3 separate regions of the Homo sapiens genome follow, and all the other regions are linked to region 1. The links are contacts of gene promoters, found by promoter capture Hi-C in blood cells and fetal thymus (Javierre and others, 2016). All regions are on one chromosome and are shown on one strand. The core of a region is centred on a gene start or on the middle of the fragment in contact, and the rest is flanking DNA. Distances in the headings are between cores, read along the strand shown. Region 1 holds the start of INTS9 (integrator complex subunit 9). Region 2 overlaps ESCO2 (establishment of sister chromatid cohesion N-acetyltransferase 2). Region 3 has its middle 3.9 kb from the start of MBOAT4.

What was found. The method cuts DNA at HindIII sites, captures the fragments that hold promoters and counts their contacts. A CHiCAGO score of 5 or more calls a contact.
Region 2: a contact is called between a fragment that was not itself captured here and the fragment with the promoter of INTS9 in region 1, in 1 of 17 cell types (non-activated CD4 T cells). The highest score is 8.4, in non-activated CD4 T cells.
Region 3: a contact is called between a fragment that was not itself captured here and the fragment with the promoter of INTS9 in region 1, in 1 of 17 cell types (fetal thymus). The highest score is 5.1, in fetal thymus.

Annotation. Positions count from the first base shown.
Region 1 is chr8:28,888,559-28,891,258 of GRCh38, forward strand. INTS9 (integrator complex subunit 9) reads right to left here and starts at 1,411. Exons shown (of 17, transcript NM_018250.4): 1 at 1,316-1,411. The coding sequence starts at 1,324. HMBOX1 (homeobox containing 1) reads left to right here and starts at 1,837. Exons shown (of 10, transcript NM_001135726.3): 1 at 1,837-2,120. RefSeq lists enhancers at 1,194-1,750, 1,390-1,589, 1,751-2,307 and a silencer at 1,960-2,079. The HindIII fragment of the contact is 2,854 bases long and covers 469-2,700 here.
Region 2 is chr8:27,774,942-27,777,776 of GRCh38, forward strand. ESCO2 (establishment of sister chromatid cohesion N-acetyltransferase 2) reads left to right here. Exons shown (of 11, transcript NM_001017420.3): 2 at 558-626; 3 at 1,421-2,228. The coding sequence starts at 574. Among named protein-coding and RNA genes, the nearest start is that of ESCO2, 1.8 kb to the left of the region's middle. The HindIII fragment of the contact is 4,359 bases long and covers 1-2,835 here.
Region 3 is chr8:30,147,175-30,150,019 of GRCh38, forward strand. No RefSeq gene overlaps it. Among named protein-coding and RNA genes, the nearest start is that of MBOAT4, 3.9 kb to the left of the region's middle. The HindIII fragment of the contact is 4,047 bases long and covers 1-2,845 here.

The DNA.
Region 1 (2,700 bases), core at 161-2,660:
ATAAATAATAACTTTGGTTTACTTTTCTATCTTCTTCTTAGGTTGCATGCTTCTGTAGGGCAACGGCTATGACTTTTAATTCTGCATTATTAAATGTGTAACACACTGACCCAGGGGTAAGTTGCTATTCTCAAGGTTTAGTGACCCGCATCCTTCCCCTTATATAAACAGATTTATACGGGGACAATTTCGGAATTGAATCCACTTTTAATACTTTCTCTGACTTCGCAGAAAACAGCTGGCTTTGCAGAATATATGCCTGTAGCACAATGATTATCAAGATGAGGGTAGGTGTGTTGTGTGGTTTGGCAAAGCATGTTCAGATAATTATATAAATGGTAAAAAATAAACTTTTTTTTTTTTTGAGACAGAGTCTCGCGCTGTTGCAAGGCTGGAGTGCAGTGGCGCGATCTTGGCTTACTGCAACCTCTGCCTCCCGGGTTCAAGCGATTCTCCTGCCTCAAGTAAAGCTTGACAATAACTTGGCTGCACAAATATGGGTTTTAAAAGGTTGAGAAACAGTGTTTCACACCTGCCTTTCTACACTATGTTATTAACTAATTGAATCGAGTTGGAATAAACTAGTTAGACTTGTGTGCACAATGAGTCAAATGGCTCAAATCAAAGGTCTGAGGAGCCTCCATGAACCAGGTGCTTGAGCTGTGTGATGTTAAGACTTCAGGTATACCGAGCACGCTTCATTCAGCCTTGGCTCATGAAGTCCCTACAGTCTTAGAATGGAATACCATATAACACTTCTCTGCCCATCTAAATCCCATGCAGGGTTTAAGACTCAACTTCTCCACACTCTGACCTCGTCCTGAATTCCAAGGGCAGTGAGGAGTCTATATAACAGGATATTTAATAAGTGATTACGTTCTGCTGGATGTTTTTTACTGTCTGCTTAAATCTAGCCAGTCTCAACAACAGTAGGGAGACAGGATACTCAAGCGCCAATCGAATGGAAACGGATTGTTAACAGCCTATTATAACCCTCACGTGGGAACCAGGACGTCCAAACCTGGTTAACAGAGCCCACAGAGTTCATGGGCGAAGGACTGTGACAGTCAACCTCTTGTCTGAACAAAAAGACCCACTAACGAGTGAAAAAAGACCTCCTGGGAGGGATGGGGTGGGGGAGAGGGAATTCAAACCTTCTCAACAACAAAAAGCAGCTTTCCTTAGCCCACTCCACTTTCCAGCTCAATAATTGCTACCCCTCCCGTGCGACGATTCCCTGCCCAACGTAGGAAAAAAAGAGGTCCAAAAGGTTATAGCATCACCTTTGCCCTCTGACCTAGGAGCGAAGACTCACCAGTTTCATAATGGACTTTTGGTGGTTCAATAGCAGTCACTGAACTCCTCAAACCCAGGAAGCGTCTTCCGGTGCAATCTCCGCCACCTGCCAGCCGAGAGCATCGCGGGACTTGCAGTCTTTCATCCTCACGTCCCTTCCAGGGGAATAATGGGAAATGTAGTCTCCCCTCCAGGCATCATGGGAACTGTGGTCGCCTTTCCTTTTCCTCCCTTTCCTCTCCGAACGCCTCCTTCCGTCAGCTCAAATTCATCCCAGCCGCCAATGCATCCTCCCTCTCCACCCCAGCATGATATCATGTCTTCCTTACGGGCCTGGGGCCCATGGTGTTCTGGGATGTGTAGTCCCGACGGCTCCGACTCCCCTTTCCCTCCTCCCAAAGGGAAGGCGGATGGGCACGGGGCTTGCCGGAAGTTGTAGTTCCCTTGGCCCTCTAGGCGCCGGGCTCCGCAATTTTTCTCAGGGGAGGCAGGAACTACAACTCCCAGGGACGCCCGGCGGCAGCAGGTGGGAGAGGGGCTGTTGATATCAATATGGCGGTTGTCAGCCAGACAAAGACAGTCAGTCTGATGTGATTGAGACAAGGGAGGTTTTTCAGGGGGAGACTGGGAGATAGGGGCCTCCCCTCCCCCTTCTCCTCTTCCTGCGCCGGCCTCAACCCCTCCCCAGTCCCCTCCCGACGGGCGCCCCACGCGGAAGACACCCCTCCCCCTCCCGCCTTCCCTCCTCCCTATCTCAGCCCTTCGTACTGGGACGTTGGGGAGGGGGCTGTGCCGGGCGGAGAGAACTCAGCGAGGATTCTGAGGTGAGTCGAGCGGTTTTGAAGCCGGACTACCTCAAGTCTCTTTCCTCACTTCTTTCTCTTCACTTAAAACAATTTTTTTGGAGGGGTTTTGGGGAGGAAGTGAGCGGACGCTGGGGATGGGTCTCGTAAGCGGCCGGATTGAGAGGAGGGAGGAAGCAGGGGGCTTCCGAGTGGGTGACCCAGACGCGGGCTGTGGGGTGGGGCAGTTCGTGGGGTCCGGTCCTGGAAAGGCGTCGACTGCCCCCCAACTCTTCTGGTTTCCTCTACGATGAGCGGAAGGTTTGAATCCTGGAGGTGGGGTCTCCGGTGTGGAGTTCTGGAAACTGTGAGGTGATTTGCAGGTGTGTTGGTTTGTTTGGGGTGTGTAAGTGTGTTTAAACTGTGTGACGTGTACTTGTGTGCTCTGCTCGTCTTGGAGCGGTGTCTGTAGATGGGAAGTTAGACAGCGCGAGTCCTCGCTCGCTCTGGGCCTGGGCTGAGGGGCGGGCGTGAGGTCCTGGTGCTGGGCGTTTGGGCTGGCGACGTGGTGCGAGGCGGCCGGGCTCAACAACTCGCTTGTGTCCCGTCGCCCGCTCACACT
Region 2 (2,835 bases), core at 109-2,608, 1.1 Mb before region 1:
TTCCCAGAGACCCTGGCCTTTCAGTTTGTTCATTCATTAATAGCTTTGAAATAACGCTTGTGTGCTGCTTTGGGGGGAATTTCCCTGATCCCAGGGAAGGGGAAGGAAATGAATTCTGACGAGCCACGTAGCCGCCTGCTCGTGCATTCTAGCATTTGTTTTCAGCAGCCTTACGACTTCAAGAGATTTTTATAAAAAGGGAAGCAAACGGCTTGCTCCGGGCTCATCAGCTAGGAAAATGGCAGAGGACTGTGCTTCACCCGTTTTCTTGCTGGGCTCTGATGAAAAGTTACAGACGGTCTCTGCCTTCATTGAAGGCTGTTGAGATGGGGAAACAAGAAAATGTCTTAAATGGACTATTAGGGAAATACAGGGTGCCATGGAAGCAGAACAAGCGCGTGTAACCCTTGGAGGGGTGGAAGGAGAGCAATGTCGAGGAAGACCTCCCAGAAAATAGGGTTTTAACTTGGTGTGAAATAGACTAATTAAAGGGGGTATAATTTTGATAAAGCGATTTTTAATATTTTGATGAATGTGGTTATTGTCATTTCTTTTAGGAATTCAATAAAGAAAATGGCAGCTCTTACTCCAAGGAAGAGGAAGCAGGATTCTTTGAAGTGTGACAGGTGAATCTCAGCCTGTGAATAGAAACTCTTAGAAAAATCCACCTTCTTGTCTCTCTTGTTCTCTCCTATTTTCTAAAATTTTCGTTCTTCCACTAGCCTACTCCTTGTGGCTACAGTGATAACCTGATAACCTATATTCTAATTCTAGCTTGGAAATACATTAAGTTTTCATAATGAATTATTTAGTCCTTTTCAAGGGAATCAAAGCTGTTTTTTAGTTTTTGTTTTTTTCTTTTGACATAGAAGCAGCACATTGAAGAAAGCTGTTTTCTATAGCTAGGAAATATACCAAATCAGCTATTACCTTTTTCCTTTCTGTTCCCCTATAATATTTTACAGTGTTTTGCATACAGTAGATGCTTGTCTGGAAACAATTCTAGAAAGACTGTGTACTCAGATATTAATTACTCTACCCAGGAAAAGCCCCAGGGGGTCAGTTCATTACAGACAGTTATTATAGGGGGCTTGTAAACAATAGAGCAAAATATATGAGCTATAATTTATATATGGCCAACACATAGAAATCGATTTTAAAACATACATGCATATATGTCTATCATAGCTTCTTTGTATATAGTATTTGTTTTCATGAACTCTTTGGGAAGATATTTGAATGTTTTATTTGATAAAGACAGAATTTGAGAATCCTACTGTTAAACTAATAGAAAATTGTGTGTATGGGGGGTACATGTATTGTTTTTAATATGACCTACAAGTAGAGCTTACTTAGCAGTAGATTTATGTAAATTTTGACGCAAAATAATCTTATCAATGGACTTTGTTTCTTTTTATAGCCTTTTACACTTCACTGAAAATCTGTTTCCATCACCTAATAAAAAGCACTGTTTTTATCAAAACAGTGATAAAAATGAAGAAAACCTGCATTGCTCTCAACAAGAGCATTTTGTTTTAAGTGCGCTCAAAACAACTGAAATAAATAGACTGCCATCAGCAAATCAAGGCTCACCATTTAAATCTGCGCTCTCCACTGTATCTTTTTACAACCAAAATAAGTGGTACCTCAATCCACTGGAGAGAAAGCTGATAAAAGAGAGTAGATCTACTTGTCTAAAAACTAATGATGAAGATAAATCTTTTCCCATTGTGACAGAAAAAATGCAAGGAAAACCAGTCTGCTCCAAGAAGAACAACAAAAAACCACAGAAGAGTTTAACTGCTAAGTATCAACCAAAGTATAGACACATCAAGCCTGTATCAAGGAATTCTAGAAATTCCAAGCAAAATCGAGTGATCTATAAGCCAATTGTGGAGAAGGAAAATAATTGTCATTCAGCTGAAAATAATTCCAATGCTCCTCGGGTTCTGAGCCAAAAAATAAAACCACAAGTTACACTCCAGGGTGGAGCAGCATTTTTTGTTAGAAAAAAATCTTCTCTTAGAAAATCGTCCCTGGAAAATGAGCCGTCACTGGGACGCACCCAAAAGAGTAAATCAGAAGTCATTGAAGATTCTGATGTAGAGACTGTCAGTGAAAAAAAAACTTTTGCGACAAGGCAAGTGCCAAAGTGCTTGGTCCTAGAAGAGAAATTGAAAATTGGACTACTGAGTGCAAGCAGTAAAAATAAAGAGAAATTAATAAAGGTAAAGCTAAATATATCACTTTAAAAATGGCTGTATAACAAAACTTCAGTATAAATGACATAGTTGAATAAAATTTTATTTTCTGGACTGCTTTTATAAAGCCAGATAGCATAGTGTTTAGTTACTGTAAGGAGTTTATTTATTTATTTATTTTAAGACAGGGTCTTTCTTTATGACCCAGGCTGTAGTGCAGTGGCACACTGCTCACTACAGCCTCAACCTCCTAGGCTCAAGCAATCCCACCTCAGCCTCCCAAGTAGCTGGTACTATAGATGCACACCACCTCACCCGGCTAATTCTTGCATTTTTTGTAGAGGCTGGGGTTTCACCATGTTGCCCAGGCTGGTCTCGCACTGCTGGGCTATAGTGATCCACCTGCCTCACCCTCCCAAATTGCTGGGATTATGGGTGTGAACCACTGCACCTGGCCCAGCCACATTTTAAGTTCTCAATAGTTACATGTAGCTGGTGGCTACCATATTAGACCATGCTGGTCTAGAACTTCTGTTGCTGACCTCCTGTTTATATCCTTCATCAGAAAAAAAGTTGAGTTTTGTGGGGCAGCTAGGGGCAGAAAGCCATTGAAGCAACCTTAAGAGAGGTTGTC
Region 3 (2,845 bases), core at 182-2,681, 1.3 Mb after region 1:
CTTCAGAGCTGAGACCTGAGAGCCTCAAACAGAGATTTACCCACGTCTTTATTGACAGCAAGCCAGTGATAAGCATTGTTTCTATAGATTTTAGATTAACTAAAAGTATTCCTTATGGGAAATAAAGGGATGGGCCGAAATAAAAGGATGGGCTCTGGCTCGTTATCTGCAGCAGGAGCATGTCCTAAAGGCACAGATCGCTCATGCTATTGTTTGTGGTTTAAGAATGCCTTTAAGCAGTTTTCCGCCCTGGGTGGGCCAGGTGTTCTTTGCCCTCATTCCAGTAAAACCACAACCTTCCAGTGTGGGCATCATGGCCATCACGAACATGTCATAGTGCTACAGATATTTTGTTTATGGCCAGTTTATGGCCAGATTTTGGGGGCCTATTCCCAACATGTCCCCCTTCTTTGATTTACAAAACAATACAAGCAAAGGCAGCTTTGTCACAGTGAGCTACTTCTCACAGGAGTCAGGATATGCATCTGCAGACTACACAAAGACAAACAACACAGATTAAAAGCACAATCATCATTGAAATCACAGAGCATCCAAGTGTTTTTATCCATTTTAATGGGTTACTAGCTGCTAATCTGTCTGCAGCTCCTTCAAGCACTCCAGTTCCTGGCATTAATGTCAGGTGTGCCTGGGATGCTTTAAATATTTGTTCTTTTAATTTTGTGATATCCAAAGACAAGTTTGTACAGTGTCCTTCTAGATGCTTTTTTATTCTTTCCCAAATTTTGATCTTATTAAGAGCTATTAATTGTTTCCACAAATCCTTATGTTTAGCTCCTACAGTGGGACGTATCATTTGAGGTTGAGGTGCCACTATACCACCATGGTTCCAGATAATAGGAACTCTTGCCATACTTCTTACCGTTTCTACCATCTGACTGTTTTGTTCAGACCAGCTGAATATAGTGTGGCCATGGCATGCAGACTGAGAGGTGCAATTCAAGCTAAACATCCCCTTGGGGACGAATTAATAATGATTCCATAGGAATCGTTGCACAGCACCTCTGCCTGTTCTGCAATGCAATCTTCCCAAACAAGTACGTCCATTAATTCTGGCCAGGTCCAATTCTGTTTACAAATAGGTTTTTGAGGGTGGTATGCCTCAGTTATAGGAGCAGATTTATTATGGTAAATACTGAGGTCAGAAAGCATGTGTAACTGTGTCATAGACTGATTACATCCAGGCATTATTGCCAGCCAAGATTGATAAATATGCCCAATAAGTATAATTGTTCTTTGTGTCAGCCCTTGTTGAAGGAATACTTACGGCAATGGTGATCACCACATCATAGCTACCATTAAATTACTCATTGTGACTGGTTGTCCCGCTTTTCTCAAGTTTTCTTCTGCCATCTGTGACAGCTTCTTGATCTGTCCTCAGGTGGGTGGCTGTGTTTGATGGGTGTTGCTCGTGACAATTGGGGTCCTCCTCAGCATCACTCTCAACGTGGCTGTAATTGGGGGGTCCTCAGGATCCTCCCAGAATCTCTTCCTCAGCATCTAGTTCATGATAAGTTTTCAGGTGTCTTGATGGTATCCAAATCGGCTGTTGATTTGGTCCTGGAGAAACACAAGCATAACGTCTACCCCAAGTTATTATTTTAAGGTTGTATAACTGAATTAATGGCTCTTAAGTCAGTTAACATTCTCCATTTACCTGATTTTTTCTTAATTACGAAAACTGGAAAATATTGGAGCTATGCGCCCGTTTTCTAATTGTTCAGTAACGAATTCCTCTAAAGCCTCAAGTTTCTCTACTTAGCGGCCATTGTTTTATCCAAATTGGCTACTCTGTTAACCATTTTAAATGTACAGATTCTGGAGGCTTAACAATGGCCACCATCAAAAATGATATCCTAAACCTTGGTGGGAACTTTGTCTTTCCACTTGAAGCGGTTCCTTTAAACCTTGCAAACTTTTTCCTAGTCCCATACCAGGGACATACCCCATTTCATGCATTATATGTTGACTTTGAGGGCTATATAATTGTTCAGGAATTAGAACTTGTGCTCCCCATTGCTGTAACAAATCTATTCCCCATACACTTATAGGTACAGAAGTTATAATTGGTTGAATAGTCCCAGGTTGTCCATCGGGCCCTTCTCAATGCAAAATATAACTACTTTGATATACTTCAGGGGCTTTACCAACTCCAACTATGTTAAATTGAGTGGGTTGAATTGGCCACGCGGATGGCCAGTGTGTAGAGAAATGATTGAAATGTCCGCTCCTATATCTACCAAACCTTTAAATTTCTTTCCCTGAATAGTTATTTCACAGGTAGGACATTTATCAGTAATTTGATTTATCCAATAAGCTGCTTTGCCTTGCTTATTCGTGCTTCCAAATCCTCCTGTTCATTTAATTTCATTTTTCCCCATTCCCACATACGGCACAATCGGGAGCTGTGCTCTGAGTTCTCCTGGCTCTGCTTTCCAGGGAACGGAAGTAGATATAACAATTTGAATTTCCCCATTGTAATCTGAATCAATGACTCCTGTTTGTACTTGTACCCCTTTTAAATTTAAACTAGACCTTCCTAAAAGTAATCCTATCATCGCTGCTGGCAAGGGTCCACAGACTCCTGTTGGGGCGTTTTGCAGGGGTTACCCAGTCAGAAGGCTCACAGCTTTTGTGCAGCATAAATCTACTGCGGCACTACCGGCTGTGGCAGGGGACAGACATTGTACGGGGTGAGGGAATGGCCTGAGCCACAAATGCCCTGGTTTGGAATGGGGCCGGGATGGGCCCCTCAGGGTGTTTCCCGAAATCGGGTTCCCATCTTTATCAAACTTAGAATGACACTGGTTAGCCCAATGTTTTCCTT